2 separate regions of the Homo sapiens genome follow, and region 1 is linked to region 2. The links are contacts of gene promoters, found by promoter capture Hi-C in human tissues and cell types (Jung and others, 2019). All regions are on one chromosome and are shown on one strand. Each heading gives the region's core, a stretch centred on a gene start or on the middle of the fragment in contact. The rest is flanking DNA. Distances are from core to core; before and after follow the strand shown. Region 1 has its middle 20 kb from the start of CAVIN3. Region 2 holds the start of OR56B4 (olfactory receptor family 56 subfamily B member 4).

The links. The method cuts DNA at HindIII sites, captures the fragments that hold promoters and counts their contacts. A contact is called where the count stands out against the background at its distance.
Region 1: a contact is called between a fragment that was not itself captured here and the fragment with the promoter of OR56B4 in region 2, in 2 of the 25 tissues and cell types used here (mesendoderm cells and spleen).

Annotation. Positions count from the first base shown.
Region 1 is chr11:6,299,530-6,302,229 of GRCh38, reverse strand. No RefSeq gene overlaps it. Among named protein-coding and RNA genes, the nearest start is that of CAVIN3, 20 kb to the left of the region's middle. The HindIII fragment of the contact is 4,182 bases long and covers 1-2,700 here.
Region 2 is chr11:6,106,427-6,109,126 of GRCh38, reverse strand. OR56B4 (olfactory receptor family 56 subfamily B member 4) reads right to left here and starts at 1,443. Exons shown (of 1, transcript NM_001005181.2): 1 at 292-1,443. The coding sequence starts at 1,348. The coding sequence ends at 389. All of the region lies in intron 2 of LOC124902622 (a long non-coding RNA gene), which reads left to right. The HindIII fragment of the contact is 6,854 bases long and covers 1-2,700 here.

The DNA of each region.
Region 1 (2,700 bases), core at 99-2,598, 190 kb before region 2:
GACAAAAATGATCAGGAAGCGACAACCCCGAATTTGGGTCTTTTCCGTGTGTACAACTTAACTATTGCCTCTGGAACGACAAGAGGCAGCATATGGATTTTTGCTTTTGTGGGGATGGTTTTACAAGTAATTCCAGTAGGTTACTCTGCTACGGTGCTTGACAGCAGCACCCTGGAGGGCCATACCCCTTCCTCCTTGCTTCCCTGAATATTTGAGATGTGCACAGCCTGCCGAGCAGGTGTGTAAGACTCATTCTCAGGCGGTACTTGTCAGCAGAGGGCTTTTTAGACCCATCAGGAGGATATCTTGCAGGGGCTCTTAGTGGTATTGTGTTTCCAAAAAGAAGGGTGATGGAGTGGGGGTACATCTGTTGAGCCAACAGTTATAATTAGTCATGGTAGATTTTAAAAAGAGCTGTGTATTTAGAATTCACATTTATGATGTGGTCTCTCTTGTTCTGGCAAGATACATTCTGAATTATGTAAAGGATTCTGAGATTCTGGATGTGCTGAATGTGGAAAAGCATTGTTCAATTACATTCTTATCATGGGCCCTGTTCATTACACATCCACAATCACCATGTCCACAGTGTCCGTGGAAATTGGGTTTTCACATAATTTTCCACAGCTGTTTTCTAATTTGATACCCTTAAATGACACTGTAACTCCCTGTATGATGACTGCCAGAACCTAAAGCCCCCAGGCAATTTTCTAAAGAAACATTGATAATAAATATTGGGGTGGTAGCCCGATAAATAGCATCTCTGTTCCCTAATAAAGTTGGAATAGAAGTATGTGGCAACAGTAGACTTCCCAATCCTGAACTCCTCTGGTATCAGAGAGATTTGCCAAGTTATAGTCTGACCTGAAAAACCAGAGTCAAGCAGCCATCAGCACTACCGCTCTGTAGATAGGAAGATTCCCAGAGGGAGAGAAAGAGGGCAGGAGGACAGGGCTGGGCCACACACACCCAGTTCCCCTTTCAAGTCAGGCAATTCACTTGAGAGGCATAAGACCTAGGGTCAGAGGGTTTAGGGAAAAATCCTTCTCATGAAAGCAATAGGTACTGCAAAGGAGCCTTCCTCTACTAACACTATTTTCTCAATTTTCCAGAAATTTCTTTTCCCCAGCTCAAAATAGCTTTGTCCTAAATTAGATGATCCAGAAACAAAGGACTGAGTCATGATAGGCTGTATATCAAACTGTTAACAATGACACACTTGTGTAAAACTTTTTAATTTGTTTTGTTCTTTTTTTTTTTTTTTTTTCAGAGACGGATTCTCACTCTGTCGCCTAGGCTGGAGTGCAGTGGCCGATCTCGGCTCACTGAAACCTCCGCCTCCCGGGTTCAAGCGATTCTGGTGCCTCAGCCTCCTGAGTAGCTGGGATTACAGGCCAGTGCCACCATGCCTGGCTAACTTTTTTGTATTTTTAGTAGAGATGGGGTTTTGCCATGTTGGCCAGGATGTTCTCGAACTCCTGACCTCAGGTGATCCGCCTGTCTCAGCCTCCCAAAGTGCTGGGATTACAGGCATGAGCCAACTCGCCTGGCTTGTTTTGTTCTTTTTACTTACTTTGGCTCATCTGTCACAGAAGTCCTCTGCTAAACAAAGATGTTTGTGGATGTTTCTTCCCTGAGCAATAATTAAACAAAGTTTTTCAAATTGTCAAAATCATTCTAGCATTCTGGGGGATGCCCTTAACCTTGATGATGGACTTTCCAGCTACTAACTTGGGGCTTTATGACTCAGAAACTTGACATGTTCCCAAGGTAACATTAACTTCTGGGTTTGTTTATTAACCGTCCTAAGAAAAGGTCTCACTCTCTGCTGTTAGGAATACATGTTTTGATAATGACGGTGGTCCTACACACACTCAAGCAAGCCATAAATACCCAGGAGGGCATATACTGTGGTGAAAGATGAAGGCCTTTTTTCTGAACTGGACAAGTATCCTCAGCATTTTTCCAGCAAGCCATTATCATTACCGTCATCTATGCATTGACAATAGGATATATTAGCCATCGCTAAAGTGGGGTGCACAATCTCAGGGGCTACTCAGGACAGCCTTTTGAAATTTCCATTTTGATGATGAGATACCTGGTACAACTTCTCAGCACATTACAATGTCTGCCAAAATAGTGTCAGGACACCTCAGTCAATAGAACAGAAAAAACACCAAGTGCTTCTGAACAGGGATGTCATCATAAAGCTTCTAGAAAGTTTCTGCGCTAGGTTGCTGGGAAAGTCGCCAGACTGGGCTGCCTCAAAAGTCTCTGATACTTTGCCTTAAAGTCTCTAGGCCCTCTGTGGCTAAAACAAAGACGGGGACAAGCCATTAAAGGATAATTTAGTTCTAAGTAGCCATTAAAAGATAATTTTCATAAACAGGTAAGATCAGTACTCTTATACAGATATAAGAATAAACATGAGTTAAAGTTTTTATTTAACTAATTCATGAGGAAAGCAGTGAAGTATTACAACCAGGTGAAAGGAGAATCCCAAGGACAGACACATTTATAGATCCGGAATATTAAAATGACTGTGCAAATACAGCCAGATGGGGTTTTTTTTGTTGTTGTTGTTGTTTTACCGGACAGCATTCATTTGCATATCTATAGACAAGAATGATTTAGCATTGCTGCCAGTTATCTACACTTTATAGAGCTGCAAAACAGCTCCCACAGAATTGGAATCAGACA
Region 2 (2,700 bases), core at 194-2,693:
TAGACTATTTCTTTTGGATATTTTTCTAAAATAGAATTACTGGTTAAGAACATTTAAACATTTATAAACATTTTGATAAATTTTACCAAATTGCTTTTTGGTGTGTTTATAGTCCTACCAGTTGTGTAGGAAAGTGTTAATCTCGGGGTAGGCTAGCAGTAATAGTTAGAAACATTTCACTTTTTTGTTCTTACTTATTTTCCAGGTAATAGGAAATTTTCTTGTAATTTTAATATACATATTTTGATTAGTGAGGCTGACAGTTTTCATGATTTTATTGGCCATTTTTTTCCTAGGGAGTGTGGTAAGTGCAGATTATAACCCTGATCTATTGAGAACTAAAACCTCTGTCATTTCCTAACATCTTACTGGATTCCTAAAGCTGGAGTTACTTGGACACGTCCTGACCCAGTCCAAGCAGTCTCTGAAAGCCCAGTCTGAGTTTGTGCATCCTGAGTGCACAGGCCAGGGGGTTGAGTGCAGGGGGGATGACATTGTGCAGCACATTAAGGAACACAGGAATAAGGGGAATCTTTTTCTCTGCAAGGTGTGTGACAGACAGCACAATGATACCTGTGTGGAAGAGGATGAGGATGAGGTGGGAGCTACAAGTGCTCAGAGCCTTGGACATTGCTTCTGCTGAGTTCAGCCTCAGCACAGAGTGAAGGATTACAGCATAGGAAGAAAATACCAGAGCCATATCACTCCCAACCAAGACCCATGCTAGCATCAGTTGGTAAAATTTGTTCACAGTGATGTCATCACAAGCCAGGCTGATAACCCCCAAGTTAGAGCAGAGGCAGTGCTCGATTTCATTCCTGGAACAGTAGTGTCTCTGGGCAGCCAGTATAGGCACTGGGATGGTCAACAGGCCATTCCTGAGCATGATGAACCCTGTGGCTTTGAAGACAAAAGCTTTAGTGACTATGGAGGGGTACTGAAGAGGGCGACAGATGGCTATGTATCTGTCTACTGCCATGCAGAGAAAGATGCCTGACTCTATGCAGAAGAAGCAGTGGATGGCATAGATCTGAGCAAAACACATGGGGAGGCTAATGGCCTTGGCATCAAACCAGAAGATGGCCAGGATCTTGGGCATGATGGTGGTGGCCAGGCCAATGTCCACCACTGCTAATATGCCCAGCAAATGGTACATGGGTTCATGTAGCACGGTCTCATGTTGAATGGTGATTATGATGAGGAGATTGGCACCAAGAGCTAAGAGGTAGAGCAGAGTCAGGGGCAGGGAGAGCCAGTGCTGCCACTCATGAATGCCTGGTAATCCCATCAGGATGAACTGGGAAATCTGGAGGCTGGAGTCATAGGTAACACTGGTGGAGGTATCCATGGAATGGGTGCCTCAGTCTCAGTGTCTGTCTGAAATAGAAGAAATCTCTGTTTAAAAGTTCAGCTAAGGGGCTGAGCATCGTGGTTCATGCCTGTAATCCCAGCACTTTGGGAGGCTGAGACAGGCAGATAATTTGAGGTCAGGAGCTCGAGACTGACCTGGCTAACATGGCAAAATCTCATCTCTGCGGAGAATACAAAAATTAGCTGGGTGTGGTGGTGCCTGTCTGTAATCCCAGCTACTTGGGAGGCTGAGGCATGAGAATCATTGAACCTGGGAGGCGGAGGTTGCCGTGAGCCGAGATTGTGCCACTGCACCCCAGCCTGGACAACAGAGTGAGACCCTGTCTTAAAAAACAAAACAAAACAAAAAGTTAAGTGTCTTGGTAAGAGCTCCTCAATAATGAACCAGCTCCTTTTATTCATGAATGACCCTCAACTTTATTTGACTTCTGGAAATATTCCACAGAGGAATAACAAAAAAAGCAAAAAAATTCTAAACAGAAGAGTTGGAATAACTATTTTTCATCACCACTTGTATGTCTAATAAGCATGTCCACATATATTAACAACAGTCTTATCACTAACAGATAACAAATGTTAGTATTTGATTTATTTCCAATTTTCTATTTTATTTTTAAACAGTCTACATCATTATCTAGAGATGATTTTGTATCTTGTTTTTGTCTTTTAGCAGTATGTGTTAAGATGTAATATAAGCACTCAAAAATTTTATTTCATGGATGAATACATTAACCAAAGACTTCACAATATTATTTAAAAAGTGTGATGTTAATTTTAATTGCTGCTTTAAATTTTTGCATTTGGCTATTCTATAATTTACTGACAGGTATTTTGCTTTTAATATTGTTTTCCTTGAGTAGAGTTTCAAAAGTGATGCAAAAATTATATATACAAAGGATATAATAGTCTTAAAATTTTAAATATAATTTTGATTTTATTTTAAGATATATTATCTATACATGGTAAAAATCAAAATAAAATGAAAAATATAAACAATGAAAAGTAAGACTCTCATGCTTGGGGCTTTGAAATCTTTTTCCTTTTCACTAGAGGCAGCCAGTAATATGTTTCTTGGGAATCCTTCCATTAATAGTTTATGCATGGATAAAAACATATATATATATATATATATATATATATAATTTTCATAAAAGACATAATCAATTGTTAGCACACCTTTCTCCTTTTTTCTTTCCTTTTCTTTTTTAACTTAATATTTTGAAGACTGCTCCATATTTCCATACTGCAGTTAAGTTGCATTATTTTCTACCACCTAGATGCCCTATAGTTTAATGATTTTTTTTTGTATTTTTAGAATTGATATATCAT